Regions from separate parts of the Homo sapiens genome. Here all the other regions are linked to region 5. Evidence: promoter capture Hi-C in 16 types of primary human blood cells and fetal thymus (Javierre and others, 2016). All regions are on one chromosome and are shown on one strand. Each heading gives the region's core, a stretch centred on a gene start or on the middle of the fragment in contact. The rest is flanking DNA. Distances are from core to core; before and after follow the strand shown. Region 1 holds the start of SIGLEC7 (sialic acid binding Ig like lectin 7). Region 2 overlaps FPR3 (formyl peptide receptor 3). Region 3 has its middle 7.3 kb from the start of FPR3. Region 4 holds the start of SIGLEC9 (sialic acid binding Ig like lectin 9). Region 5 holds the start of SIGLEC8 (sialic acid binding Ig like lectin 8). Region 6 has its middle 42 kb from the start of ZNF577. Region 7 holds the start of FPR1 (formyl peptide receptor 1).

The links. Contacts are between HindIII fragments. The CHiCAGO score rates a contact against its expected background, and 5 or more counts as called.
Region 1: a contact is called between the fragment with the promoter of SIGLEC7 here and the fragment with the promoter of SIGLEC8 in region 5, in 12 of 17 cell types (neutrophils, monocytes, non-activated CD4 T cells and 9 more). The highest score is 16.6, in neutrophils.
Region 2: a contact is called between a fragment that was not itself captured here and the fragment with the promoter of SIGLEC8 in region 5, in 3 of 17 cell types (M2 macrophages, monocytes and neutrophils). The highest score is 9.7, in M2 macrophages.
Region 3: a fragment that was not itself captured here is called in contact with the fragment with the promoter of SIGLEC8 in region 5 in 2 of 17 cell types (neutrophils and monocytes); the score reaches 11.4 in neutrophils.
Region 4: the fragment with the promoter of SIGLEC9 here is called in contact with the fragment with the promoter of SIGLEC8 in region 5 in 3 of 17 cell types (neutrophils, fetal thymus and erythroblasts); the score reaches 13.5 in neutrophils.
Region 6: a contact is called between a fragment that was not itself captured here and the fragment with the promoter of SIGLEC8 in region 5, in 1 of 17 cell types (monocytes). The highest score is 5.9, in monocytes.
Region 7: a fragment that was not itself captured here is called in contact with the fragment with the promoter of SIGLEC8 in region 5 in 2 of 17 cell types (monocytes and total B cells); the score reaches 6.5 in monocytes.

Annotation. Positions count from the first base shown.
Region 1 is chr19:51,140,086-51,143,858 of GRCh38, forward strand. It overlaps SIGLEC7 (sialic acid binding Ig like lectin 7), which reads left to right and starts at 2,216. Exons shown (of 7, transcript NM_014385.4): 1 at 2,216-2,717. The coding sequence starts at 2,285. LOC124904749 (a long non-coding RNA gene) reads right to left here and starts at 425. Exons shown (of 3, transcript XR_007067310.1): 1 at 339-425. The HindIII fragment of the contact is 9,764 bases long and covers 188-3,773 here.
Region 2 is chr19:51,820,977-51,824,584 of GRCh38, forward strand. FPR3 (formyl peptide receptor 3) reads left to right here. Exons shown (of 2, transcript NM_002030.5): 2 at 2,763-3,608. The coding sequence starts at 2,773. It also overlaps a transcript of ZNF577 not described here. Among named protein-coding and RNA genes, the nearest start is that of FPR3, 28 kb to the left of the region's middle. The HindIII fragment of the contact is 5,603 bases long and covers 1-3,608 here.
Region 3 is chr19:51,785,780-51,789,921 of GRCh38, forward strand. No RefSeq gene overlaps it. Among named protein-coding and RNA genes, the nearest start is that of FPR3, 7.3 kb to the right of the region's middle. The HindIII fragment of the contact is 5,296 bases long and covers 1-4,113 here.
Region 4 is chr19:51,123,196-51,126,919 of GRCh38, forward strand. SIGLEC9 (sialic acid binding Ig like lectin 9) reads left to right here and starts at 1,711. Exons shown (of 7, transcript NM_014441.3): 1 at 1,711-2,200; 2 at 2,402-2,680; 3 at 2,886-2,933. The coding sequence starts at 1,780. The HindIII fragment of the contact is 17,590 bases long and covers 1-3,724 here.
Region 5 is chr19:51,456,169-51,460,276 of GRCh38, forward strand. SIGLEC8 (sialic acid binding Ig like lectin 8) reads right to left here and starts at 2,286. Exons shown (of 7, transcript NM_014442.3): 1 at 1,766-2,286; 2 at 1,293-1,571; 3 at 1,016-1,063. The coding sequence starts at 2,219. The HindIII fragment of the contact is 20,005 bases long and covers 1-4,027 here.
Region 6 is chr19:51,843,563-51,847,601 of GRCh38, forward strand. It overlaps a transcript of ZNF577 not described here. Among named protein-coding and RNA genes, the nearest start is that of ZNF577, 42 kb to the right of the region's middle. RefSeq lists an enhancer at 3,760-4,039. The HindIII fragment of the contact is 5,979 bases long and covers 1-4,039 here.
Region 7 is chr19:51,751,861-51,755,562 of GRCh38, forward strand. FPR1 (formyl peptide receptor 1) reads right to left here and starts at 18. Exons shown (of 2, transcript NM_002029.4): 1 at 1-18. The HindIII fragment of the contact is 324 bases long and covers 1,089-1,412 here.

The DNA of each region.
Region 1 (3,773 bases), core at 966-3,465, 320 kb before region 5:
TGAGGTCAGGAATTCAGGACCAGCCTGGCCAACCTGGTGAAACCCCATCTCTACTAAAAATACAAAAATTAGCCAGGCATGGTGGCGGGCGCCTGTAGTCCCAGCTACCAGGGAGGCAGAGGCAGAAGAATCGCTTCAACCCAAAAGGTTGAGGTTGCAGTGAGCCAAGATTGTGCCACTGCACTCAAGCTTGGGTGACTTCGTCCCCACCTCACCACCACCCCTTCCCCCCGAAAAAAGGCAGACACTGGATAGAGATTTGGCAGCCTTGGGAAGCGAAGAAAAACAAAAAAACAAACAAACAAACATAAAAAGACCCAAAGTAATGCTGATCTCACCTCATAGAGATCAGTTCGCTCTCCCTCTCCAAGAGTGTGATACTGTGCTTAATAAACTGCTGCTTCTTGCTTTGCTGTCTGTGTGTGTCTCATCCAATTCTTTGTTTAAGACACCAAGAGCCTGGAACTGCATGGCACCATCCGGTAACACTTCTGCCCACTGAGATACTGCAAATATCCTTATGGGGAGAGAGTGGCTGGGCAAGGAGGAGGCGCCCAGGAGGCAGATTGGTCTGCAGGATGAGATACTAGCTGCAAATGCAGGGATTGGAGGTGAGGGCGGGGAGTGGCTTCGGACGCCCAAACCCAGCATCTTCCTCTCTCAATCGTTACAGCCAAATGATCTCTAGGTTATGGACAATTAGGGGACAGTGTGGGCTGAGCAGATCAATGCAGTTGTATGGAAGAAAACAGACTGGGATTTTCTATGTATACAACATCTTCAGGAAAACCTACGTGAAGTTAGAATTTTCAAGGCAGCATGTGCCGATGATAAAACTACATAGAACAGCAGGAAGACTATTATCATTAAAGTGAGGCTAGGGGCTCCTTCAGGAGGGAGCGGGGGCATGGCCAATAGGAAAGGGGAATGTAAGGGTGAATGAATTAATAAAATCTCTTTCTTCATTTCAAGGGACAGACTTGACAGTTCTTTTGTGTTCTAGTTCTTCAAGGGTGCTTATTTTGTGTGAATCACTGAGTTGGTTTTTAGGGGACACTTTTATGTACATGTCTTGTGTTTCTCCCCGCTCAAAAAAAACTGTTTCAAGAAAAGCTGGCCTGGATCTAAGGGGGCTGCAGCTTGCAGGATTTTTCCCACTTCCTCCCAGCCCAGTCACACAGTTTAAAATAATCTTCTGTTGAAGTCAGGTGCGTGTTTCTTCTCTCAGAAAATCGCGCCCATCACTGAGGGTGGACGCCCCGGGGCTGGTGTCTTTGCTCCACGTCTCCTGTTCACCTGAACCCCTAGGAGCAGTTCCTGCAGGAGCAAAGCCCCAGGGCCAGCAGACCCCTCACACTCTGCACTAACCAGGCCTCATGAGATAGCAGTGGTGAAGGGAAATGTCCTTGTGCTCAGAGAGCTGTGAGGATGGGAATAGTGTCTGCTCTTTTCATATTGATCCTTTCCCTTATGACTTTCCTGTCTACCAAGCCCCACAATACAACAATCACAGCCTCAGCTTCCCCGGCCTCCTGCAGGCTGGGCTCCCCTCCGTGTCCTTGGCGTGTATCAACAGGCGCAATCCTCACCTTCACAGCCCCATGTCCGTCTGCTCGGTCCTCCTGAGACTGAACCCCCGACCTAGGGGAGAGTGACCCCACCCTGCCTGTGCCCCCCACTGAAGCTCCTGTCATGGGGAGCTCAAACGTCAGGAGACTCAGTGTCTCCCCACCACACAGTGACTCCTTGGGGACAGTGTCCGGCTCTGCTGTGTTGACCTCATTGTGCAGAAAGGGGGTGCCCACCTCGTGGCTGCTGAGGGAGGGATGAGAGGCTGCCTGTTCACCCCACCTGCACCCCTGTCTCTCATGGCCCCGAGTCCCACTTCTGAGCTACGCAGACATCCACAGCCTGTGACTCAGGGGTCTGGGCAGATGGGAGTTATTTTCACCCTGCAGAAAATATCACCTAAAGGGAAAGGCATTGAGAGGGAGGCAGGAGGTGGGGTGGGCCCTGCATGGGGTGGGAATCTGGGTGAGTCTGTCTCCCGCTCTGGCCTCAGGGACCCAGGAGTGAATGTCGGGTGGTGGACGGTGGATCTCCCAGGGCTGACCCAGCCCTGACAGTGTCTGTGTGTGAAGTTCTTCTTCTAAGGAGGTCACTGTTTTGACCTCACCACCGACTTCCTGTAGGGCCTCTTCTAAGTCTTGAGCCCGCAGTTCCTGAGAGAAGAACCCTGAGGAACAGACGTTCCCTCGCGGCCCTGGCACCTCCAACCCCAGATATGCTGCTGCTGCTGCTGCTGCCCCTGCTCTGGGGGAGGGAGAGGGTGGAAGGACAGAAGAGTAACCGGAAGGATTACTCGCTGACGATGCAGAGTTCCGTGACCGTGCAAGAGGGCATGTGTGTCCATGTGCGCTGCTCCTTCTCCTACCCAGTGGACAGCCAGACTGACTCTGACCCAGTTCATGGCTACTGGTTCCGGGCAGGGAATGATATAAGCTGGAAGGCTCCAGTGGCCACAAACAACCCAGCTTGGGCAGTGCAGGAGGAAACTCGGGACCGATTCCACCTCCTTGGGGACCCACAGACCAAAAATTGCACCCTGAGCATCAGAGATGCCAGAATGAGTGATGCGGGGAGATACTTCTTTCGTATGGAGAAAGGAAATATAAAATGGAATTATAAATATGACCAGCTCTCTGTGAACGTGACAGGTAAGGCACGGGCTCCAAGAGAGGCCAAAGGCAAATGTGATGAGGGCTTTAGGGCACGGCTGAGACGGGACACATGTCCTGGGAGGGGGCCGGGGGTGATGGACTCAGGAGAGGAGCTGGACCAGAGCCTGAGCTTCCCCAGGACCGCACCTTGGATGCCCCTCCTGATCCTGCAGGCCCCTCCCCTCACCAGCCCTGACCCACAGGCCTGACATCCTCATCCTGCCTCTGACGCTGGCATTGTGGCATGTGGGGCCTTATGACTCCTTGTTTTGGGGCCTGTCCTAGGCATGGCCGGGGTTTAGCACCATCCCAGGCCTCTCCCCACCAGATGCCAGAAGCACCCACTCCACCCATGCAGTGAGACAATAACAATTATCTCCACACATTGTTAAACGTCCTGGGGGGTTAAGTCCTCCCCAGTTGAGAGCCTTAGGTCTACACAACCCCGTGACTCTCTCAGGCCAGGCCAGGGAGGAAGCACTTCCTGGCGCAAACCAAGGGCAGCAGAGGCACCTGAGCCTGGACAGGGAGACTCAGCACACGGCCCCTCCATCTCTCATGCCCTGAGGTCCTCGGAGATCCACATTTAGATGCTCAAAAGACAGGAGGGACCTCCACGATGGTCCAGAGGCCGGGAGGGCAGGACCTACGTGTCTGGTGCAGGCCCTGGTGCTCCAGGGAAGCCCGGAGGTAGGAGGTGGGACACGGTCTCTTCTCCTCCCTGGGTGGGTCTCTAGGGTCTCTGAGCTTCAGGGTTTCCTTCACTCTGTGCAGAGGGAACCAGTTCCTATAGCATGTGGGTTTGTAGTTTCTCTTTCGTGCTGGGTTGAGGTCTCCAGCTCCTCTCCAGCCCCTCTCCAGCCCCCTGTGGGTCCCACAGCCCTGCCCCTCCTCTCCCTCCCACTTCTCTGCTCACACAAGGAGCCCAGGAACCCTCTGTCTCAGAGATGCTGCTGCCTCTCTTGTGGGCAAATGAAGAGAGGGACAGTCGGGGCTGGGCTGAGCCTCATTTCCCCACAGCGTCCCAGGCCCCACTGTCAAGATACAGGCTGG
Region 2 (3,608 bases), core at 360-2,859, 360 kb after region 5:
TAGTAGCCACTATTGCTATGAGCATTGTTCTTGTCCTGACCTTGAGCTTCAAAAGGCACGACCCAGGATTGAGCCCCATGACACAGCACACAGCCTGGTGAGGACCAGAAGTTCCCATTTGTCACAGACACTCAGTCTAGCCTAGAAGATTTCCATGTCCAGTCTCACTTAATCCTCACCTGAAAGTTAGACTTCACCACAAAACTGTCCTTGTTCTGCAGAGGAGAAAACTGAGGCTCAAAGAGATATCACTGACCAAGAACCCATATTGGCAAGGTGCCAACGATAAGAGTAGCGATCTAACTGACCCCAAAGCCCAGTGTTCTTTACTCTGTAACAGTGATGCTCAACTGGGGGGAGTTTTGCCTCCCACGGGACCTTTGACAATGTCTATAGACACTTTCAGTTGTCACTCCTGAAGGGGGAGTTGCTACTAGCATCGGTGGATAGAGGCCAGGGGTGTTGCTAAATATCCTACTGTGCACAGAACAGTCCCCCACAACAAAGAATTACACAGCCCCAATTGTCTGTAGTGCCAACGTTGAGAAACCTTGAGCTACATTAAACAATGTCCCATGAAAGACCTCAGTGAAAGTGACTGGTAATGACAGGAAGAAAAGAAGGAAGAGAGAAAGGGAAAGGAGGAAAAAACCATGATACTAGGGTATGACCACATGCTGGAAATATCTGGGGAACTCCTTTCAAATGCAGCATTTTAGAGTTGCAACGGTAGTGGCTCTAAAGTTGCTCATCCTGAATTTCAAATCTTGCTGCCTCCACTGACCGGCTGGACATGATGCTGAAAAAAAAAAACCTACAAAAACCCCAAGGCCATGAATTCCCTCTGGTACAAAAAGGGGTAATGATGGCTGCCCACAATGTTATTATGAGTATTATTTGTGAACAAGTGCTGTATAATTGCTGTTACTTTTAGAGAGGCTGGATATCCCAAGGTAGGAAGAGTCTCTAATTTTCCTGGCCATAAAAATCACTGTAGCTTTTACACAGAGAGATTCTAGAGTTGGGTTCATGAATATGCATTTTAACAAATACCTTGGATGTTTCTGATACAGCCCACAGACCACAGTATAAGCAAATTTGGTCAAGTGGCAAAGACACAAGGGACACAGAGACCTTTGGGTTGAGTTGGATGCAACAGCTTCCCATGTGACCTGGTGCAGAGGCAGGGACTGTAATTTTGTGATTCTGTTTCTTAAAAGCAAGGAAATAGATCCCAGAAAGATGCCAGGATATCCTCCCATAGTGTTATTGCCCAGAATTTAGTCATGTTTCCACCAATAAAGCAATCCCTTGCAAAGCAAAAGGAATTCTAGTTAGAACAAATTAGAAAATCAAGATATGCCCGCAAAGATGGAGGAGGGATACCTTCCCCCAAAAGAGTGAGTAACTGAACAAAATTGCGATTTGATTTGCAGAGAAGAAATGAGGAACAGTTATTTGTGGGGGGAGGGGGCATCACCAGCAATATCTGTCAGAATTGTTGCATAGAGAAAGGGCTTAGAAGTCAGACTAAGCTAGATTAAAGATCTTTGTCTACTGTTTCCTACTTAAGTGACCAGCAGATTTCACAATTGCTCTCAACATTGAGTCATTCCTGTGGAAACTACAAACAATGAATATTACAGAGCTACTATGCAGACCAAACTACAACCCATATGTAGCAATTAACACAGTGAATAGTCTCTGATAAGAACCCTACAAATACTAGCTAAATATTCATGCTCATTCTGTTTATCCCACAGACCTTGAAGATATACAACGGATGCTAAGTAGGGACAATGAAAAGCAGACGGGAGAAAGTAAATATAGGGCCCTCTTTGTTGACTTCATCTAGCACAGAATCTATAGGATGTAATATATTTCTGCTCTTTTTTTTTGTGGGGGGAAATGGAATCTACTCTGACATCCAGACTGAAGTGCAGTGGCACGATCTTGGCTCACTGCAACCTCTGCCTCCCAGGTTCAAGCAATTCTCCTGCCTCAGCCTCCTAAGTAGCTGGAGTTACAGGCTCTTGCCACCACACCTGGCTAATTTTTGCATTTTTAGTAGAGATGGAGTTTCACCATGTTGGCCAGGCCAGTCTCCAACTCCTGATCTCAAGTGATCCACTCTCCTCAACCTCCTAAAGTGCTGGGGTTACAGGCATGAGTCACCACGCCCGGCCTATAGCATGTAATATATGTCTATATATTACAAGTAATGGTTCAAAATCCTCTTCAGCTAACTCAATCCAAACCCTAAAACTTCAAATTAAATATCAACTAAAAAATAGGTCAAGGGTCCTCACAGTGGGAGGGACAGGAGCTGGGAGACTGGGAGAGCATGGGGCCGAAAGAAGTTGCAGAGCTTGCCAGCATGTTTGCATTGAGTGATGGAGGCCACAGATGTGAACCTTCTGACTCTGAGTCTTGTGCCTTCCTCACGAAGCTGAAGCTGCCTATGCTCAATTTTCCATTGTCCATACACTCTCAGTTCAGTATTTCCGCTGGTGGACAGAGCCCTTTAATCCTCTTGGTAATCAGCTTGATAGGTGGCATGCATATTAATAATGATGGGAATATAGAGAACTATCGTTTCCCAAAGGAACTCCGAGAGAGTGCCAATTTTATGTTATAACCATTCACAAGGCTCACTGGGGAGGGTCTGCTGGTAGGAGGAGGAGCTACAGTGGAAGTTAATGAATAGTTGTATTGTAAGATGGTGTCACAGCTGAGAAATGGCCATTGCTGAAATGTTTCAGGTGTGGGAAGATGGAAACCAACTTCTCCATTCCTCTGAATGAAACTGAGGAGGTGCTCCCTGAGCCTGCTGGCCACACCGTTCTGTGGATCTTCTCATTGCTAGTCCACGGAGTCACCTTTGTCTTCGGGGTCCTGGGCAATGGGCTTGTGATCTGGGTGGCTGGATTCCGGATGACACGCACAGTCAACACCATCTGTTACCTGAACCTGGCCCTAGCTGACTTCTCTTTCAGTGCCATCCTACCATTCCGAATGGTCTCAGTCGCCATGAGAGAAAAATGGCCTTTTGGCTCATTCCTATGTAAGTTAGTTCATGTTATGATAGACATCAACCTGTTTGTCAGTGTCTACCTGATCACCATCATTGCTCTGGACCGCTGTATTTGTGTCCTGCATCCAGCCTGGGCCCAGAACCATCGCACCATGAGTCTGGCCAAGAGGGTGATGACGGGACTCTGGATTTTCACCATAGTCCTTACCTTACCAAATTTCATCTTCTGGACTACAATAAGTACTACGAATGGGGACACATACTGTATTTTCAACTTTGCATTCTGGGGTGACACTGCTGTAGAGAGGTTGAACGTGTTCATTACCATGGCCAAGGTCTTTCTGATCCTCCACTTCATTATTGGCTTCAGCGTGCCTATGTCCATCATCACAGTCTGCTATGGGATCATCGCTGCCAAAATTCACAGAAACCACATGATTAAATCCAGCCGTCCCTTACGTGTCTTCGCTGCTGTGGTGGCTTCTTTCTTCATCTGTTGGTTCCCTTATGAACTAATTGGCATTCTAATGGCAGTCTGGCTCAAAGAGATGTTGTTAAATGGCAAATACAAAAT
Region 3 (4,142 bases), core at 216-2,715, 330 kb after region 5:
TGACTCTGAAGCCGAATAGCAACTTTCAAAAGAGTAAATATTTTCCATTTTAATTAAGTCCAATTTATACTTTTTTCTTCTATGGATTGTGCTTTTGGTGTCGTGTCTATGAACTCCCTGCTTAGCCTTAAGTCTTCACTATTTCTTCTATGTTTTCTTCTAAAAAGTTAGTAGTTTTGCATTTAATATTTAAATCTGTAATCCATTTTGGATTAGTTTTTATAAAGGAGGTAAAACTTAGATTGAGGGTTTTTTGTTTGTTTTTATTTATTTATTTTTTTTCGAGACGGAGTTTCGCTCCTGTCGCCCAGGCTGGAGTGCTGTGGCACAACCTCGGCTCACTGCAAGCTCCGCCCTGCCGGGTTCACGCCATTCTCCTGCTTCAGCCTCCCGAGTAGCTGGGACTACAGGCGCCCACCACCACGCCCGGCTAATTTTTTGTATTTTTAGTAGAGACAGGTTTCACCGTGTTAGCCAGGATGGTCTCGATCTCCTGACCTCGTGATCCACCCGCCTCGGCCTCCTAAAGTGCTGGGACTACAGGTGTGAGCCACCGCGCCCTGCCTAGAATCTCTTACATGTTCTCACTCCTAAGTGGGAGTTGAACAATGAGAACACATGGACACAGGGATGGGGAATATCACACACTGGGGTCTGTCGGGGGCTGGGGGGCTAGGGGAGGGATAGCATTAGGAGAAATACCTAATGCAGATGACAGGTTGATGGGTGCAGCAAACCACCATGGCACATGTATACCTATGAAACAAACCTGCACATTCTGCACGTGTACCCCAGAACTTAAAGTAAAAAAGAAAAGAAAAGAAATTATTCTTCAACTTCACATTCTTCTACTCACTCCAAAGAGTCTATTGTACTCCAAAGCGTCTATTAAGTATGCCCTTAACAAGCTCCCCATCCCCAGAGATATGTTCTTCATCTGGATTTTATATTCCACCAGCTGGGTCCTTGCTCTGGGAAGTTCTAGGTCCTGATCTCCTGGAGAGAGTCACTGTCATGTAATTTTCACAGCAGAAGTTAGCCCAAGGGACAGGAGGAGGAGTAAGAGAACTGAAACCAGTTGGGGAACAGGAAACAGAAAGCAGAGCTCCTTCTGATTTTTAATGGCCCTAAGAACACACCAATATACTACTTGTTTTAATAGCAGTGGATTGTTGTGGGCCCATTTAGGAACTAAAGTACCTGACTGTGTTTCTCAACCTCAGTCTTTGTGGGATGCAGAGATTCAACCCTCTCAACCTAAAGGGCCAAGGAATCTGGGTGTCCAGGACCCTTCTCTCTCCAAGGGTCAAGGTAAAGAGAGGAGCAAGTACTGTAATGATGTCAGAGGCACTGGAACCAGAGCAACTCCATGTTGAATAGTAGCTGGGTAAAATTAGGCTGAGACCTACTGGGCTGCATTCCCAGACAGTGAAGGCATTCTAAGTCACAGGATGAGATAGGAGTTCAGCACAAAAAAACAGGTCATAAAGACCTTGCTGATAAAACAGGTTGCAGTAAAGAAGCCGGCCAAAAGCCACCAAAATCAAGATGGCCACGAGAGTGACCTCTGGTCGTCCTCACTGCTACACCCCCACCAGTGCCATGACAGGTTACAGATGCCATGGCAACGTCAGGAAGTTACCCTATATGGTCTAAAAAGGGGAGGAATGAATAATCCACCCCTTGTTTAGCGTATCATCAAGAAATAACCATAAAAATGGCCAACTAGCAGCCCTCAGGGCTACTTTGTCTATGGAATAGCCATGCTTTATTCCTTTACTTTCTTAATAAACTTGTTTTCACTTTATTCTATGGAGTCACGCTGAATTCTTCCTTGTGCGAGATCAAGAACCCTCCCTTGGGGTCTGGATCAGGACCCCTTCCAGTAACAGAAGAATTAGAGGGAAGCAATGAAAGGCAGAATGAAGACGAGAAGGATGGAGACCAAAACCACTGAGAGATTGAAGGGAGGCAGAGAAGTTGACAGGACAGAGCATCCACACCCAGGCACCCCAAGATTAACCCCATAATTTTTGGCTCCAGTGGAAGCTCATTTGTAGGTTTCTAGTGCAAAGAGGTGGTGGGCTTTCTGAAATATTAGGTTCTATCCAAGGGTATCAGAGTGGTATGGAGATAAATGGGAAGCAGAGACAGAAATAAGGTAGTCCACCTAAAAGCATTATTCCCAAGGCTTTGTGTCATTAAGGCTGTTTACAATTTTAAGTAGTTTATAATTTAAAATTACACCTAACAATGGCTTAAACCAAAGACAACATTTATGGTTTATTTGCTTTCCAAGAATTTTGCAAGTGAGTAGTACTAAATTACTTTCTGTCCAAATTATATCATTTAATAAGTTTATTTTGATCTTTTCACTTTTTCATCACTATTTTGGTGTGTTTTTTTTTTCCTGGAAATTGCCACCTCACGGCCCCAAGATAGCTGCCATAGCTCCTGGTCTCACAATACAGCATCTCATGCCAGGAAGATAGGGATGAAATGAAAAAATACTGAAAATTTTAGATCTGAGGCGAGATATGTTCAGATTTATTTTATAAAAATTTATCTTTGGGTCCTAATAACAAGAAGCATTTTAGAAGATTCCCAAGGAAGGAAGGGTAAGAAGTATAGATGTGTCTAAGAGGCACAAGGAAACCAAAATACTGTGTGTGTGTGATGGTTGGGAGGGGGGAATTAAAATAAGGGAAATGGCAGAGGACACCATTATGCATAAAGGAGAAGGACCCAGATGTCAAGAGAAAAAAAGAGGCAAAGGACCCCACAGAGACTAATTGCCAAACACATTTGCAAGTCTTTTGAAGTCCAATTATTCTTCCTAAAACTGGGTTCCTGGATGCCTCTGCATGTTTCCCATAAACTCTCGTTATTAAAACATAAGCAGTTGGGTATGGTGGCTCACACCTGTAATCCCAGCACTTTGGGAGGTCGAGGTGGACGGATCACCAGGCTGGTCAGGAGTTCGAGACCAGCCTGGCCAACACGGCGAGACCCCATCTGTGCTAAAAATACAGAAATAAGCCGAGCATGGTGGCGCATGCCTATAATCCCAGCTACTCAGGAGGCTGAGGCAGGAGAATCACTTGAACCTGGGAAGTGGAGGTTGCGGTGAGCTGAGATCATGCCACTGTATTCCAACCTGGTTGACAGATCAAGACTCCATCTAAAAAAAAAAAAAAAAAAAACAAAAAACCAAAACATAAGTAGGTTTTCTTTCTTGCTACGAAATGGCCCATGATTAACAAAAATGCCTAGAGGCAAGTAAACAGAATAAGAGTCTTAAAATGAACTTTCACTCCAATGGGGCAAAAATCATCTAAGGATCGTCTCAGTCAGACATGGGTGAGACTCAAAGTATGATTCATCCTGAGGCAAATTCCTCTTCAGCTGTAAGCCTGTTAAATCAGACAATTACGTGCTTTCGAAAATATAGTGGTGGGACAATCTAGGATTGACATTCCCATATCAAAAAGGAGAAATAGGAAGGAAGAAAGGGGAACCAGATCCTGAGGAAGTCCAAAACAATGTGGCAAATACATTTTAAGGCCTCAGTATAATGTTCTTTGACTCCATGTTCTGCTTTTTGGACACATTGGAGCTGGGGTTGGGCCACAACAGCTCTGGGCAGAACCACCATCATGGCTTTGCTGGGTGTAGCTGATGCAGCAGCTCTCAGGGGCTGAAGTCAGGTGCTGTAGCTCCCCAAGGGTGGTATTGCACACAGGTGGCTACACTGTTCTGAGGTCTCAGGGGCAGCCTCACCCCCAGGGTTCCACTGGACATTGCCCTAGTGGAGGCACTCTGTGGTGGCCCCATCCCCGCTGCTGTACTGGGCATTCTCTTAATGCCATCATATTGGGGGAGGGACTCTCTGTGGAGAGACAGAGAGTCTCTGGAGACAGCCCTCTCCCTGAGTTGCATGCCTGCGACTCCAGGTAGCACCTTCCTTCAAAATCTAAGGGGAGGCAGCCACAACCCCGCAGCTCATGCACTCTGTGCCCTGGTGGAGATGACACCACACAGATGTAGCCTTGGCTTACAGCCTGTGCCATCCAGAGAAGTGGCCTGAGCCGCAGTCTGGCGTGCTTGAGCCAAAGCTTGGAAGGCCAAGGAGTGCTATACTG
Region 4 (3,724 bases), core at 461-2,960, 330 kb before region 5:
GCTACTACTCCAGGTGAGCAGGCCTGCTCTTTTCTAGGGAAGCCGAAGGATTGTTCCCCGAGTTCCAGGTGGGGCTGAGCTGTCCTGTCCCGCCTGAGTTAGAATTGAAGTGGCCGATGCTAATCTGAGGCCCGTGTTGGCTCTGCAGGTGTGGAGGGCCCCAGGGGAGCAGTGCTGAGAGGCCTGACTGAGCCCCTCCTGCTCAAGACAGAACTCAGATGTGGACACCCAGCCCTGCAGAACAGATGCAGGACAACACTGTCAGCCATGGCTCAGCCCTTCTGACCATTGCAGTTGAGATGCTGCAACTTCCCAGGGAGCGACTGGGCAAACATGGGGGCCTGAGGTATTCACGGCAACGTGCACAGATGATAAAACTACCTAGAAAAGCATGGAGACCATTAGCGTTAAAGTGAGGCTGGGGCTGCTTCAGGAGGAAGTGGGGTGTGGCTGACAGGAAGTGGGGTAACAAAGAGGAGGTGTTGCGGCATCCCCAGTGTTCTGTTTCTCTAAGCATGTTCATATGTGTAAACCGCTGAGATTTTTTCTTGGGGGGAAGACATTTTTATCTATATGGCTTATATTTCTCCCAAAAATATTTCTAGAAAACTGACATCGGTCTAAGGAGGCTCCACCACACAGGATACTCCCAGTTCCTCCCAGCCCAGCCACACAGTTACAAAAAATCTTCTGCTGAATTCAGGTGCATGTTTCTTCTCCCATGAAATCCTGCCCATCGCGGAGGGTGCATGCCCCGGGGCTGGTGTCCTCACTCCACATCTCCTGTTCACCGGGACCCCTGGGAGCAGAGCTTGCAGAAGCAAAGCCCCAGGGCCAGCTGATCCCTCATGTTCTGGAGTAACCAGGGAAGTGTGGCTGAGCGAGACATCGGTGGTGAAGAAACCCTTCGTGGTGCAGTGAGGAAAGGAGAAATATCTTCCCTTTTGAAATCTGCCCCTTTTCTTCCGAATTTCCTCCCTTCCAAGCCCCACAGTACAACAGTCACAGCCTCAGTTTCCCAGACCTCCTGCGAGCCAGGCTCCCCTCTGTGTCCTTGGCGTGTATCAACACATAGAATCCTCACCTCCACAGCCCCATGTCCCTCTGCTCAGTCCTCCTGAGATTGAACCCCTGACCTACGGGAGAGTGACCCCATCCTGCCTGTGCCCCCCAACTGAAGCTCCTGCCGTGGACAGCTCAGACGTCAGGAGCCTCCATGTCTCCCCTCCGCACAGTGACCCCTTGGGGACAGTGTCCAGCTCTGCTGTGTTGACCTCGTTGTGCAGAAAGGGGGTGCCCACCTCGTGCTTGCTTGGGGGGGATGAGAGGCTGCCTGCTCACCCCACCTGCACCCCCATCTCTCATGGCCCCAAGTCCCACCTCTGAGCTACGCAGATATCCACAGCCTCTGACTCAGGGGTCTGGCCAGATGGGACTCATTTTCACCCTGCAGAAAATGTCACCTAAGGGGAAGGGCATTGAGAGGGAGGCAGGAGGTGGGGTGGGCCCTGCATGGGGTGGGAATCTGGGTGAGTCTGTCTCCCGCTCTGGCCTCAGGGACCCAGGAGTGAACATGGGGTGGTGGACGGTGGATCTCCCAGGGCTGACCCGGGCCTGACAGTGTCTGGGTGTAAAGTTCCTCCTCTGAGGAGGTCACTGTTCCGACCTCGCCCCTGTCTTCCTGTAGGGCCTCCTCTAAGTCTTGAGCCCGCAGTTCCTGAGAGAAGAACCCTGAGGAACAGACGTTCCCTCGCGGCCCTGGCACCTCTAACCCCAGACATGCTGCTGCTGCTGCTGCCCCTGCTCTGGGGGAGGGAGAGGGCGGAAGGACAGACAAGTAAACTGCTGACGATGCAGAGTTCCGTGACGGTGCAGGAAGGCCTGTGTGTCCATGTGCCCTGCTCCTTCTCCTACCCCTCGCATGGCTGGATTTACCCTGGCCCAGTAGTTCATGGCTACTGGTTCCGGGAAGGGGCCAATACAGACCAGGATGCTCCAGTGGCCACAAACAACCCAGCTCGGGCAGTGTGGGAGGAGACTCGGGACCGATTCCACCTCCTTGGGGACCCACATACCAAGAATTGCACCCTGAGCATCAGAGATGCCAGAAGAAGTGATGCGGGGAGATACTTCTTTCGTATGGAGAAAGGAAGTATAAAATGGAATTATAAACATCACCGGCTCTCTGTGAATGTGACAGGTAAGGCACAGGCTCCAGGAAAGGCCACAGGGAAAGGTCATGGGGGCGGCAGGGAAAGGCTGGGATGGAGCCCCTGCCCCAGGAGAGGGCTTAGGGTGAAGCGAGTTGGCTCAGGGCAGGAGCTGGACCAGAGCCTGAGCTCCCCCCAGGGCTGCACCATGGATCCTCTGACCTGATCCTGAGTCCCCCTCTCTTCACCAGCCTTGACCCACAGGCCCAACATCCTCATCCCAGGCACCCTGGAGTCCGGCTGCCCCCAGAATCTGACCTGCTCTGTGCCCTGGGCCTGTGAGCAGGGGACACCCCCTATGATCTCCTGGATAGGGACCTCCGTGTCCCCCCTGGACCCCTCCACCACCCGCTCCTCGGTGCTCACCCTCATCCCACAGCCCCAGGACCATGGCACCAGCCTCACCTGTCAGGTGACCTTCCCTGGGGCCAGCGTGACCACGAACAAGACCGTCCATCTCAACGTGTCCTGTGAGTGCTGGGCCGGGACGCCTGGGTCCCTGATGGGGTGAGCGTCAAGCCTGGACACTGGGTGCTGGGTCCCGGAATCTGGGCTGGTGGTGGGGTCAGGAGGACACTGGCTCTGCCTTCCCTGTTTATGCGGCTCCTGGGGACAGACAGGGCCAGTGTCCCCAGCCCTCACAGTGATGCGGGTCTCCATGTCTTTCTGTCCCAGACCCGCCTCAGAACTTGACCATGACTGTCTTCCAAGGAGACGGCACAGGTAGGATGGAGCTCCCTCCCTGGGGCTGGAGGAGCAGGGCCTTCAGGTCAGGATGGGGCTGGCTTATTCCTCAACCTGGACTCACTTTGGCAAACAGGGATGTCCTTGTGGGTGAACTCAGGGCCCCTCTGTATCCTTAGGCCCCAAGGCCACTTGTTCCCATCCTCCCATCACCTCCCTTGGACTCCCCCACACACCCCCCCCTCAGCCTCAAACAAGAAGAGGGTGGCATTCACACAGCAGGACCAGGCTTTGAGGCTCCTTCTCATGTATCTCCTGAATACATCTCCACCCTTATCTGTTTATTTCTGATAGTTCTGATCTAAGTACTTCTGGACAGGTGATAAATGTCCATGGGCAAAAATTCAAATTGCAGAGCAAAGGCTCTCCTCCGATGCCTGCCCCCCTCCCCAGAACCAACCACTGTCCATCCAGGCTGCCCTGAGTCTCGGTTTGTACACCTGGAGGATCTCAGAGGTGGTTTGACGTCCGTAGTGAGACTGTCCGCACCCTCCTCTAGGGCTGTGTGTGAGTCCACTGCATGGATGGACTCTGATTTTGTGGCATCTCCTAATGGAAGATCACGGCACTAATTTCATCCTACGGCAGGATAGAACAATCTTGTATCTACTTCCACAGGAATATCTAAGCCTGTGGGTTAAGTTCCTAAAAGCAAAATGTAGCTACATTATATGTTCTTTCTTATTTTGAAAGATAAGCCCAAACTGTTCTCGATGAAGCGGGGAGAAGTTTACATTCCCAGCAGTGAGTGGTGAAAGTGTGTGTTTCCA
Region 5 (4,108 bases), core at 1,036-3,535:
GTAACAAACCTGCACGTTGTGCACATGTATCCTAAAACTTAAAGTATAATAATAATAATAATAATAAAAGGAGACAGAGGGTCAGAGAGACAAATGGATCCAGAGAAAGAGGAAGGACACAGAAAGAGACTAGTGAGAGGGACTGACACACAGACATAGACTGAAGTGCAGGAAAACGCACACTCAGTGCTGGGAATGTAAACTTGTCCACTTTTAATTGAGAACAACTTCACTGCATCTTTCAAAATTAGAAACAACATACGACACTGGTATATTTTGCTTTTAGGAATTTATCCCATACACTTAGATATTCCTGTGGAAGTAGATACAAGACTATCCACTGCACAGTTTCTGCGGAAGGATATTTGTGCCATGATTTTCCTTAAGGGATGCCACAAAGTCAGAGTCCATCTGTGCAGTGAAATCACACACGGTCCTAGAGGACGGGGTGGACAGTCTCACTACGATGTCAAACCACCTCTGAGATCCTCCAGGTGCACAAACCAAGACTCAGGGCAGCCTGGACGGACGCTGGTCAGTTCCGTGGAGGGGGATGGGCACTGGAGGACAGACTTTGCTGTGCATTTTGAATTTCTGCCCATGTGACTGTATCATCTGGGCAGAAGTACTTAGATCGAAACTACTGGGAAAACAGAAAGATCAGACAGAGGAAGTATTCAGGAGATGCCTGACAAGAAACTTGAAAGTCTGGTCCCAAAATAAAAACGAACAAAAACCAAAAAAATTGGGAGTCTGATCCAGCTGTGTGAATGTCACCCTGTCCTTGCTGTGGGGCCAAGGAAGGGGTGTGTGGAGGAGTCTAAGGGGAGCAGGGACAGGATGGGGACAGGGGCTCAGATGGTCACGCGGGCTGGAGATGTGGGCTCTTGTGCCCTGGGCTCACGCACAGTGGCAGCTCTGTTTCCCAAAGTGATTCCAGGATGAGGAGAGACCCAGCCCCATCCTGAGCTGAAGGCCCTGCTCCCCCAACCCCAGGGAGGGGGCTCTGTCCTACCTGTGGCATCTCCTTGGAAGACAGTCATGGTCAAGTTCCAAGGAGGGTCTGGGACAGAAAGACATGAAGACCCACATTACTATAAGGACTGGGGACATTGGCCCTGTCTTCCCAGGAGCTGCAAATACAGGGAAAATGGAGTCGGCATTCTCCTGACCCCACTCCCAGCCCAGATTCTGGGACCCAGAACCCAGTGTCCAGGCTTGAACCCCATCCCCTGCCCTCAGGAACACCTCCCAACCCATGAGGGACCTGGGCATCTTGGTCCAGCACTCACAGGACACATCGAGGCGGACGGTACTGGTCGTGGTCACACCTGTCCCAGGCAAGGTCACCTGACAGGTGAGGCTGGTGCCGTGGTCCTGGGGCTTTGGGGTAAGGGTGAGCACTGAGGAGCGGGCAGTAGTGGGGCCCGGGGAGGACACGGAGGCCCCAATCCAGGAGATCATGGGGGGTGTCCCCTGCTTACAGGCCCAGGGCACAGAGCAGGTCAGGTTCCTGGAGTGGCCAGACTCTAGGGTCCCTAGGATGAGGATGTCAGGCCTATGGGTCAGGGCTGGTGAAGATGGGGACACAGGATCAGGAGGAGGTATTTCAGGTGCAGCCCTGGAGGAAGCTCAAGCTCTGGTCCAGCTCCTCCCCGGAGACCGACTTATTTCAATCCCAACCCCCTCCCAGGCCCCATCCCAGCCCTGCCTTTCAGCCCCTCATGACCTTCCCCTGTGGCCTGTGCTGGAGCCCGTGCCTTACCTGTCACAAACACAGACAGCTGCTTAGTTTTGTAATTCAACTGTGATTTGTAACTCCATTTCATGCTTCCTCTCTCTAGCCGAAAGAAATATGACCCCTTATCCCTCTTCCTGGCGTCTCTGATGCTCAGGGAGCAGTCGTTGCTCCAAATGTCCCCAAGGAGTTGGAATCGGCCCTGGGTCTCTGCCTGCACTTCTCTGTCTGGGTTGTTTGTGGCCACTGGAGCGTCTTGGTATGGTCTGTCTCCTGCCCGGAACCAGTAGCCATGAACTGGGTCAGAGTCAGTCCAGCCATCCTGGGGGTAGGAGAAGGAGCAGGGCACATGGACACACAGGCCCTCCTGCACCGTCACCAGCTCCTGCACTTGCAGCAAGTAACCATCCCCATATTGTCTGTCTCCCTCCATCCCCTTTGTCCCCCAGAGCAGGGGCAGCAGCAGCAGCAGCAGCAGCATGTCTGGGTTTGAAGGCGCCAGGGCCGCCAGGGAACGTCTGTTCCTCAGGGTTCTTCTCTCAGAAACTGAGGTCTCAAGACTTAGGGGAGGTCCCGCAGGAGGTTGGGGGTGAAGTCAGAAAAGTGACCTCCTCAGAGGAGGAACTTCACACACAGACACTGTCAGGGCCGGGTCAGTCCTGGGAGATCCACTGTCCACCACCCCATTTCCACTCCTGGGAACCCTGAGGCCAGAGAGGGTGAGAAACTCATCCAGATTCCCACCCTATGCAGGGCCCAACCTCTTTCTTGCTTCCCGGACTTGCCCTTCCATTTGGGTAACATTTTCTGCAAGGTGAAATTGGGTCCCATCTGGCCAGACCCCTGAATCACCCCCGGGGCTGTCACTGTTTGTGGAGGTCATACCAGCCAAAGGTGGAACTCAGGGCCATGAGAGACTGGGGTGCAGGTGAGGTGAGCAGGCAGCCTCTCCTCCCTCTCTCAGCAGCAACGAAGTGGGCACCTCCTCTTTACACAACGAGGTCAACAGAGCAGAGCCAGACACTGTCCTCAAGGAGTCACTGTGCAGAGGGGAGACACGGAGGCTCCTGACGTCTGAGCTCCCCAGGACGGGAGCTTCAGTGGGGGGCACAGGCAAGGTGGGGTCGTTCTCCCCTAGGTCAGGGGTTCAGTCTCAGGAGGCCTGAGCAGAGGGACACGGGGCTGTGGAGGTGAGGATTCTGCATGTTGATACACACGAAGGACGGGGGGCGGGGGGAAGCCTGGCTCGCAGGAGGCCTGGGAAACTGAGGCTGTAACTGTTGTACTGTGGGGTTTGGAAGGGAGAAATGTCAGAAGGGAAAGGGTCAATTTGAAAAGGGCACACACTTCTCCCTTTGTTGCAGCTATCTGGGTATCAGAATGGGTTTCTTCACCACCCGTATCTTACTCAGCCACACTTCCCCTGGTTACTGCACAGCAGGCGGGGTCTGTCAGCCCTGGGGCTTTGCTCCTGCAGGCTCTGCTTCCAGGGGTCCAGGTGAACAGGTGTCATGGAACGAGGACACCAGCCCTGGGGTGTGCACCTTCAGCGATGGGCAGGATTTCTTGAGAGAAGAAATGTGCACCTGAATTCAACAGATGATGATGATGATGATGATGATGATGATGATTATTATTATTATTATTATTATTATTATTTGAGACGGAGTCTCTCTCTGTCGCCAGGCTGGAGTGCAGTGGCGCGATCCCGGCTCACTGCAACCTCTGACTCCCTGGTTCAAGCGATTCTCCTGCCTCAGCCTCCCAAGTAGCTAGGATTACAGGCATACGCCACCACATCCAGCTAATTTTTGTATTTTTAGTAGAGCCGGGGTTTCACCATGTCGACCAGGATGGTCTGGATCTCCTGACCTCATGATCCACCCACCTCAGCCTCCCAAAGTGCTGGGATTACAGGTGTGAGCCACCGTGCCTGGCCTCAACAGATTATTTTAAACTGTGTGGCTGGGGGCTGGGAAGAAGTTAAGGGGGATCCTGGGAGGCGGAGCCTCCTTAGACTCAGGTCAATTTTCTTGAAACATTTTTTGGGGGGTAAATATAAGAAATATAGATAAAAACAACCCCCAAAGAAGACCTCAGTGATTTACATACAACGAGCCCCCTCCTAGAAATGGCACATTGACAAAGTCCCCAGCGCTGCTCATTTGTTTCTCCTTCTTATTGGCCACACCCCACTCCCTCCCAAACGATCCCCTAGCCTCACTTTGGTGCAAATTGCCTCAATGCTTTTCTATATAGTTTTATTATCTGAGCAGGCTGCATTTACTAAGCTTTTGCACGTTTTTCTGAAGACTTTGTATACACAGAAAATCAAACTCTACTTTCTTCCACTCAGCTTCATGGATCTGC
Region 6 (4,039 bases), core at 38-2,537, 390 kb after region 5:
ACTACCTAAAAACCATCTGTAACCCACCTTAGGAGCATTTAATGTAATTCATTATACATATTACAATAAAAACAATAAAGGTTAGTCCTTCCTTCAAGTGTTTCTGATCTTGCACAGAGTAGCAAATACAGTCCTATGCAGAAAGCCTATGTATTGCATGGTATTATGGATTAGCAAGGACTAAGACAGAAGTATGCTCAAGCTAATATGTGAGCACAATTAGGTAAGGCCATAATTGTTCTGAAGAGGTAGACAAGCTGGTAGCATGATTAGTAGTGCGTTCTAAAGGAAGAAGTGGAAGAAATGGGGGCTTCCTTGGAAGGGGGCAACATATGTATCTGTATTAAATACCATTCTGCGTTCAAAGAAATGCAAATAGTTCATTAAGACAGGAGAAGCTGAAGAGAAGAAATGCCCATTTGAAAAGCAGGAACATGTCTTGGAGCAAAGGGTACACATTTCCTTAAGATACTCGATAGCCACTACACTTTTTTTTTTTTTTTTTTTTTTACATAAGTAAGTTACGGTCAGAATTGCATTTTGGAAATTGTGCTACAAATTAAATGATGATACTCATAAAGAAAAACAGACTTCTTACTATGTGCTATGTATCATTCTACAAATTTTACATATATTAACATAATAATCTGCACAATAACCCTTGTTTAAGCACTATTATGTTCTTTTTATAAAGAAGAGATTTTAAGTTTCCTAGCTGTGCCTTTTATATCTCCCACATTTCCTTAAAGATTACTGTTCACTGGGTCCATATGCTGGCACACAAAAACTGAAGAGGAAGAGGAAGATCCATCAGAGACATTTCTTCACACTGGATGCCCAGGAAATATTTACTGATATCAACGATTTTATGTGCTTTCTCCTTCTGGACAAAGTAAATCTTGTAACTTTTAAAAATTCTCTTGTGATGGTTGTCAGTACTGCCACAAAAATGTTTGCAACTTAATTCTAGATCCTGCTACTTATATGGCAATTGTCTAATTATTAGCACCTTTCAGGACCCTACGACATGGAGATAGATCTCCCTTCCTAACTGGCTACTCTTGATCATTTATTCTGTCTCCTAGTCTAACCACATCCCTGCCAGCCAGAGTGTACTTATATTCATTTTTCTCTTTGATTACATATATGGTTATAAACTTCTAAAAATCTACTGGGAAGTAAATAAACACCTCACTTGGAACTTTGTCATGTTCAAGAGCTTTCAGAAGATGGCCAGTACTTTTAGTATCTGTTTGTCCTGCAATTCTGATAATGTCTCATCAAGGGTATCCTCAACAAAGATGAATTTCTGGACATGAGATATACTTTTTTCCTTTACAGGAGCTGCCTCATTCTAAGAAGTCAGCATCTATGAATTCAAACAAAAATGTGTTTTAAAGTAGAAATAATAAAGAGCAAGTCCGCGTAAATAAAAAGACTTTTCTTTTTAAAATTAATTCATTTCCTATACCTAACAAATAAAATTGTATGTATTTATCAGTACAATACGTTGTTTTGAAATAAGTATATACTGTGGAATGGCTAAATCAAACTAATTAACATATGTATTACTTCACATACTTGCCATATTTTTGTGGTGTGAACACTTGAAATCTATTCTCTTAAGCAATTTTCAAGAGTACAATACTTGGCCGGGCACGGTGGCTCACACCTGTAATCCCAGCACTTTGGGAGGCAGAGGCAGGCGGATCACCTGAGGTCGGAGTTTGAGACCAGCCTGATCAACATGGAGAAACCCGGTCACTACTAAAAATACCAAATTATCCGTGGTGGTGTATGCCTGTAATCCCAGCTACCCGGGAGGCTGAGGCAGGAGAATCGCTTGAACCCGGGAGGTGGAGGTTATGGTCAGCGAAGATTGCACCATTGCACTCCAACCTGGGCAACAAGAGCAAAACTCTGCCTCAAAAAAAAAAAGAAAAGAAATAATACAATACCTTGTTATTTACTACAGTCACCATGTTGTACAATAGATCTCTTAAACATAAAAGTTCATGTCTTATCTAACTGAAATTTTTTATTCTTTCACCAACATTTCCACAACCCTCTCCCTCCCCCAGCCTTGGTAACCACCATTCTACTCTCCATTTCTATGAATTCAATAATTTTAGATTTCACACATAAGTGAGATCATGCAATATTTGTCTTTCTCTGTGAGGCTTATTTCACTTAACATAATGTATTCCAAGTTCATCTATGTTGTCACCAAGTGACAGGATTTCCTTCTTTTTTGTGGCTCAAGAGTATTCCATTGTGTATATATGCCACGTTTTCTTCATTCATTGTTGTTGGACACCTAGGTTGATTACCTCTCTTGGCTATTGTGAATAACACTGCAATGAACATGGGAGTGCAGCTATATCTGCAAAGTGCTGATTTCATTTCCTTTCGATATGTGCCCAGTAGTAGGATTGCTGCATTATATGGTGGTTCTATTTTTTTTTTTTTGAGACAGAGTCTTGCTCTGTTGTCCAGGCTGGAGTGCAGTGGCACTGTCATGGCTGACTGCAGCCCCAACCTCCCAAGCTCAAGCAATCCTCCCACCTCAGCCTCCTGAGTAGTTGGGACTACATGTGTGTCCAGCTAATTAGTCCACCATGCCCAGCTAATTTTTTATTTCTAAAAACAAATAAATTTTTATTTGAGACCAGCCTGTATAACACAGTGAGTTCTTGTCTCTATAAGAAATAAAAGGTATACATTTGCATAATAATAGCTACCTTTTGTCAAGTATCTATTAATACGTATTTGCAGATGAGTCACTGGAAGGTAACTAGGGTTAGATGAGGTCATGAGGGTGGGCCTTCAATATGGAATTAGTGACCTTAAAAGAAGAGATATTGGCTGGGTGCCATGGCTAATACCTGTAATGCCAACTCTTTGGGAGGCCGAGGCCGGTGGATCACTTGAGGCCAGGAGTTTGAGACCAGCCTGGCCAATATAGCAAAACCGTGTCTCTACTAAAAATACAGAAAATTAGCCAGGTGTGGTGCAAACGCCTGTAATCACTGCTACTTGGGAGGCTAAGGAATGAGAATCACTTGAACCCGGGAGGCAGAGGTTGCAGTGAGCCGAGATCGCGCCACTGCACTCCAGCCTGGGCCACAGAGCGAGACTCCATCTCAAAAAAAAAACAAGAAGAGAATTTGCATTCTCCCCCTACTGCCATATGAAAACAGATGGCCATCTGCAAACCAGAAAAAGATCTCTCACCAAAACTCATCCCACACTGGCACTGTGATCACGGACTTCCAGCTTCCAGAACTATAAGAAAACAAGTTTCTCTTGTTTAAGCCACTCAGTCTATGGTATTTTGTTATGGCAGCCCAAGCTGACTAATACATTACATGCCAGCACTTTGTCAGGGACTTCAAATGCACTACCTCACTCAATCCTCAAAACCCATCTGCAAGGTAGATATTTTCAATTTGTCATAATGGAAAAACTGAGACTTACAGAAGTTGGGTATCTTGCCCAAAGTCACACAAAATAGGGTAGAATTGACATAAAAAGCTAGTACTAATTTCAAGTGTATACAAACACTCGTGTACGCACACACATGCACACACATAGCATTTATGACACGATTTTGACAACTCATGAATTTTGGTTGTACAGGTTATCATATTGCTATTCTTTCGAGTTTTCTATATACTTGAAATTCTTCGACATAAGATATTGGGAAATATAATACCTCAATGTAAAATACAGCACCCAAATGTCTGTACAGCTGAGGCCTCCTTATGTTCCAGCCCCACCAGCCTCTCCCGTCGATGTCCGTGTTGCTCTCCACCCAAGCATCTTGCTGTTGCCTCACTCACACCTCCCCAGACACCTACTTTCAAGTGGAGCATAAAACGGACCCTCCAAATACTCAAACTTGGACCCCTGAAACCTCAGATCACTAACCGCCAATCCCTGTCCTCGCCGACCACATCCTGACGGCCCCCTCCATCGGTGGCTCTCCCAGGCCTCTCTCTCTGTGGCAGGGAGCACGATGAGGAGAGGATATTTCACG
Region 7 (3,702 bases), core at 1-2,500, 290 kb after region 5:
GGGTCTCCTGGGGAGAGTGACTCAGGCTCTAATGATTGCAGCAAAACATACACCAAGGAACAGGAGGAGGGGTAAAGGAACTAAAACCAGCTGGGTAGCAGGAAATAGGAAGTCTGAGCTTCTTCTGATTTTTGATGGCCCCAAGAATACACCAATATACTGTCTGCTTTAATGGCATTAGGACAGTGGGCTGGGCCTGTTTAGAAACTCATGTACCTGACTGTATTTCTCAGCCTCAGTCTCTGTGGGATGCAGAGGTTCAGTGCTCTCAACAACAAGGGCCAAGAAATCCAAGTGTCCGGGCCCCTGCTCCCTCCAAGGGTCAAGGTAAAGAAAGCAGCAAGCACTGTGGTGAGAAGAATCAGAGGGAGGCAATGAAAGGAAGAGAAGAAGTCATGAGGGATGGAGACCAGAAACACAGAGAGAGGTAAGGGAGTGGGGGAAGTTGAGACAGTTGGCAGGACAGCGCGTCCACACCCATGCACACCACCAAGATTAACCCCATAATCCTCTGATCTTGTGGAAGCTCATTTGTAGTCTTCTAGCCCAAAGAAATAACCGTTTTTCTGAAATGTTAAGCATCCTTCCAAGGGTATCAGAGTGATATGGAGAAATATGGTAAGACAGTTACAGAATCAGAGATAACGACACTGATTCTAAAAGCATTATTACCAAGGCATTGTTGCATTAAGACTGTTTTTTCTTTTCTTTTAGAGACAGTATCCTGCTACGTTGCCCAGGCATGTCTCAGACCCCTGGGTTTAGTGATCCTCCTGCCTCAGCCTCCCCAAATGCTGGGATTACAGGCATGAGCCGGGCTGTTTTTAATTCTAAGTAATTTATAATTTACAATTACACCTAACAATGGCTTCAACAAGGGGTGTCCAATCTTTTGCCTTCCCTGGGCCACACTGGAAGAAGAAGAATTGTCTTGGGCCACACATAAAATACACTAACACTAACGATACCTGATGAGCTAAAAAAAAAAAAAAAAAAAAAAATCCCCCAAAAATCTGATAATGTTTTAAGAAAGTTTATGAATTTGTGTTGGGCTGCATTCAAAGCCATCTTAGGCCATGGGCTGGACAAGCTTAGCTTAGAACCAAGACGAAATTTATGGTTTACTTTACAAGAATTTTGCAAGAGGGTAATACTAGGTTAGGTTATATCTGGAAAATATCATCAAGAACTACATTCATTTTAATCTTTTCTCTTTTTTATCCCTAATATGGTGACTTTTTTTCCTGGGGATTGCCACTTCATGGCTCCAAGAAAGCTACCACAGCTCCTGACTTCACATTACAGCAGGGGTCCCCAACCTCCAGGCCATAGACCAATACACAGACCGATACCGGTCTGTGGCCTGTTAGGAAGTGGGCTGCACAGCAGGTGACTGGCAGGTGAGCAAGAGAAGCTTCATCTGTATTTATAGCCACTCCCCATTGCTGGCATTACTGCCTGAGCTCTGCCTCCTGTCAGATTAGTGGCGGCATTAGATTCTCATAACAGTGTGAACCCTACTGTGAACTGTGCATGCCAGGGATCTGGGTTGTGTGCTCCTTATGAGAATCTAATGCCTGATGATCTGTCACTGTCTCCCATCACTCCCAGATGGGACTGTCTAGTTGCGGGAAAGCAAGCTCAGGGCTCCCACGGATTCTACATCATTGTGAGTTGTATAATTATTTCATTGTGTATTACAATGTAATAATAATAATAGAAATAAAGTCTACAATAAATGCAATGTGCTTAAATCATCCTGAAACCATCTACCCCGCCACCCCATGGAGAAATTGTTTTTTATGAAACTGGTCCCTGGTGCCAAAAATGTTGGGGACTGCTACACTCCAGCATCCCACACCAGGAGGATGGGGATGAGATGGAGAATCACTGAAGATCTTTAATCAGAAGGGTGATATGTTCATTTGTACTTTATAAACATTTGTGTTTGTATTTTATAAACATTTTCTTGGGATCATAACAACAGATGCATTTTAGAAGATTCCCAAGGTATGAAGGGTAACAAATGAAGACGTGCCTAGGAGTCACATGGAAGCCAACACTTTGTAAGGGGATTAAAATAAAGGGAATGGCAGAGGACATCATTATGCACAGAGGAGAAGGGCCCAAATGTCAAGAGAAAACAAGAGACAAGGGACTCCACAGAGAGTAATTGCCAGAAAAATTTGTAGGTCTTTTGAAGTCTGACTGTTCTTCCTAAAACGGGGGTCCTGGGACACCCCTACCTGTTTCCCATGAGCCCTCTTTTCTAAAACATAAGTAGGTTTTCTTCCTGGCTACCAAATGGCCTGTGATTAGCACACTAGGTTGGGCAAAAATAGAGCCAAGTGTGTGTTCCAAAGTGACTATGGTGAAGAAAAAAGCGAAAGTCTTAAAATGGACTTCCACTTCTGTGTTTGCGTAAGGCTAAAAGGGAAGATGTCTTAGGGTTGACCGGAATGGGAGTATTCCTGCCTATGCTGCAAAAGTCCCTGACTCTTCTGGTAACTGAAACATGAGAAATGGCCTCGGCGAGCAGCACAGCCTCCCAGTAAAGCACTGGACTGAGGTGGTAAAGCCAGATTGCCTGGACTAGAATCCCAGGACTACTGTTCACTAGCTCCGGACAAGCCAGCTAATCCAGGGGTCTCAAACATTTCCCCCAACTTTTTTTTTTTGAGACAGAGTCTCACTGTGTCACCCAGGCTGGAGTACGGTGGTGTGATCTTGGCTCACTGCAGTTTTGCCTCCTAGGTTCAAGTGATTCCCCTGCCTCAGCCTCTCCAGTAGCTGGGATTACAGGTGCCCGCCACCACGCCTGGCTAATTTTTGTATTTTTTAAGTAGAGATATGGTTTTGCCACGTTGACCAGGCTGGTCTTGAACTCCTGACCTCAAACAATCACTTGCCTTGGCCTCCCAAAGTGCTGGGATTACAGGACGGAACCACTGCACTGGGCCACAAACATTTCCTATGAAGAGCCAGATGGTCAATATATTTCATTTGGCAGGCCATAGGGTCTCCATCACAACTCCTTGGCTCTGCTGTTGTAGCCTGAAAACAGCCACAAGCAAAGTTGTAAATGAGGAGCATGACTGTATGTCAATAAAACTTTATTTAAAACACGACAATTGGACTTCATATAAGTTTTGCATGGCACAAAATACCCTTCATTTGATTTTCTTTAGCCGGTAAGAAATATTAAAGCCATTCTTGGCTCTCAGGCCATACAAAAACAAGCGGTGGCTAGATTTGACCCCTGATTTAACTGCACTGGGTCCCAGACACTTCACCTGTGAATTGAGAGCAATGATACTTACAGAGGTGTTTTCTGGAGCAGAACAAATAAGATCAGTGATACAAAGCACTTGGCATGAATTCCAGTGCAATAAGTATTATCAATATCTTAGTAATTACATAAACCTCTCTATCTGCTGTTTCACGTTCTCTGCGGTGAACCCATCCATGCTTAAAACTTGAACCACACCTCAGCTAACATTCACCAGACCCCTGTCTCTAGCTCAGACCTGCCCTTGATGTTCAGACACATCATTTTGGGTTCCTGTTTCCTTTCAAACTCATCTGCAGCCTTTGCTCTCCTCACCTTCTCCCACAACTCTGTTAAGGACTAAATTGTGTCACATTCCCCTTCAAATTCTTAGGTTGAAGCCCTCACCCCATGATATGGTTTGGCTGTGTCCC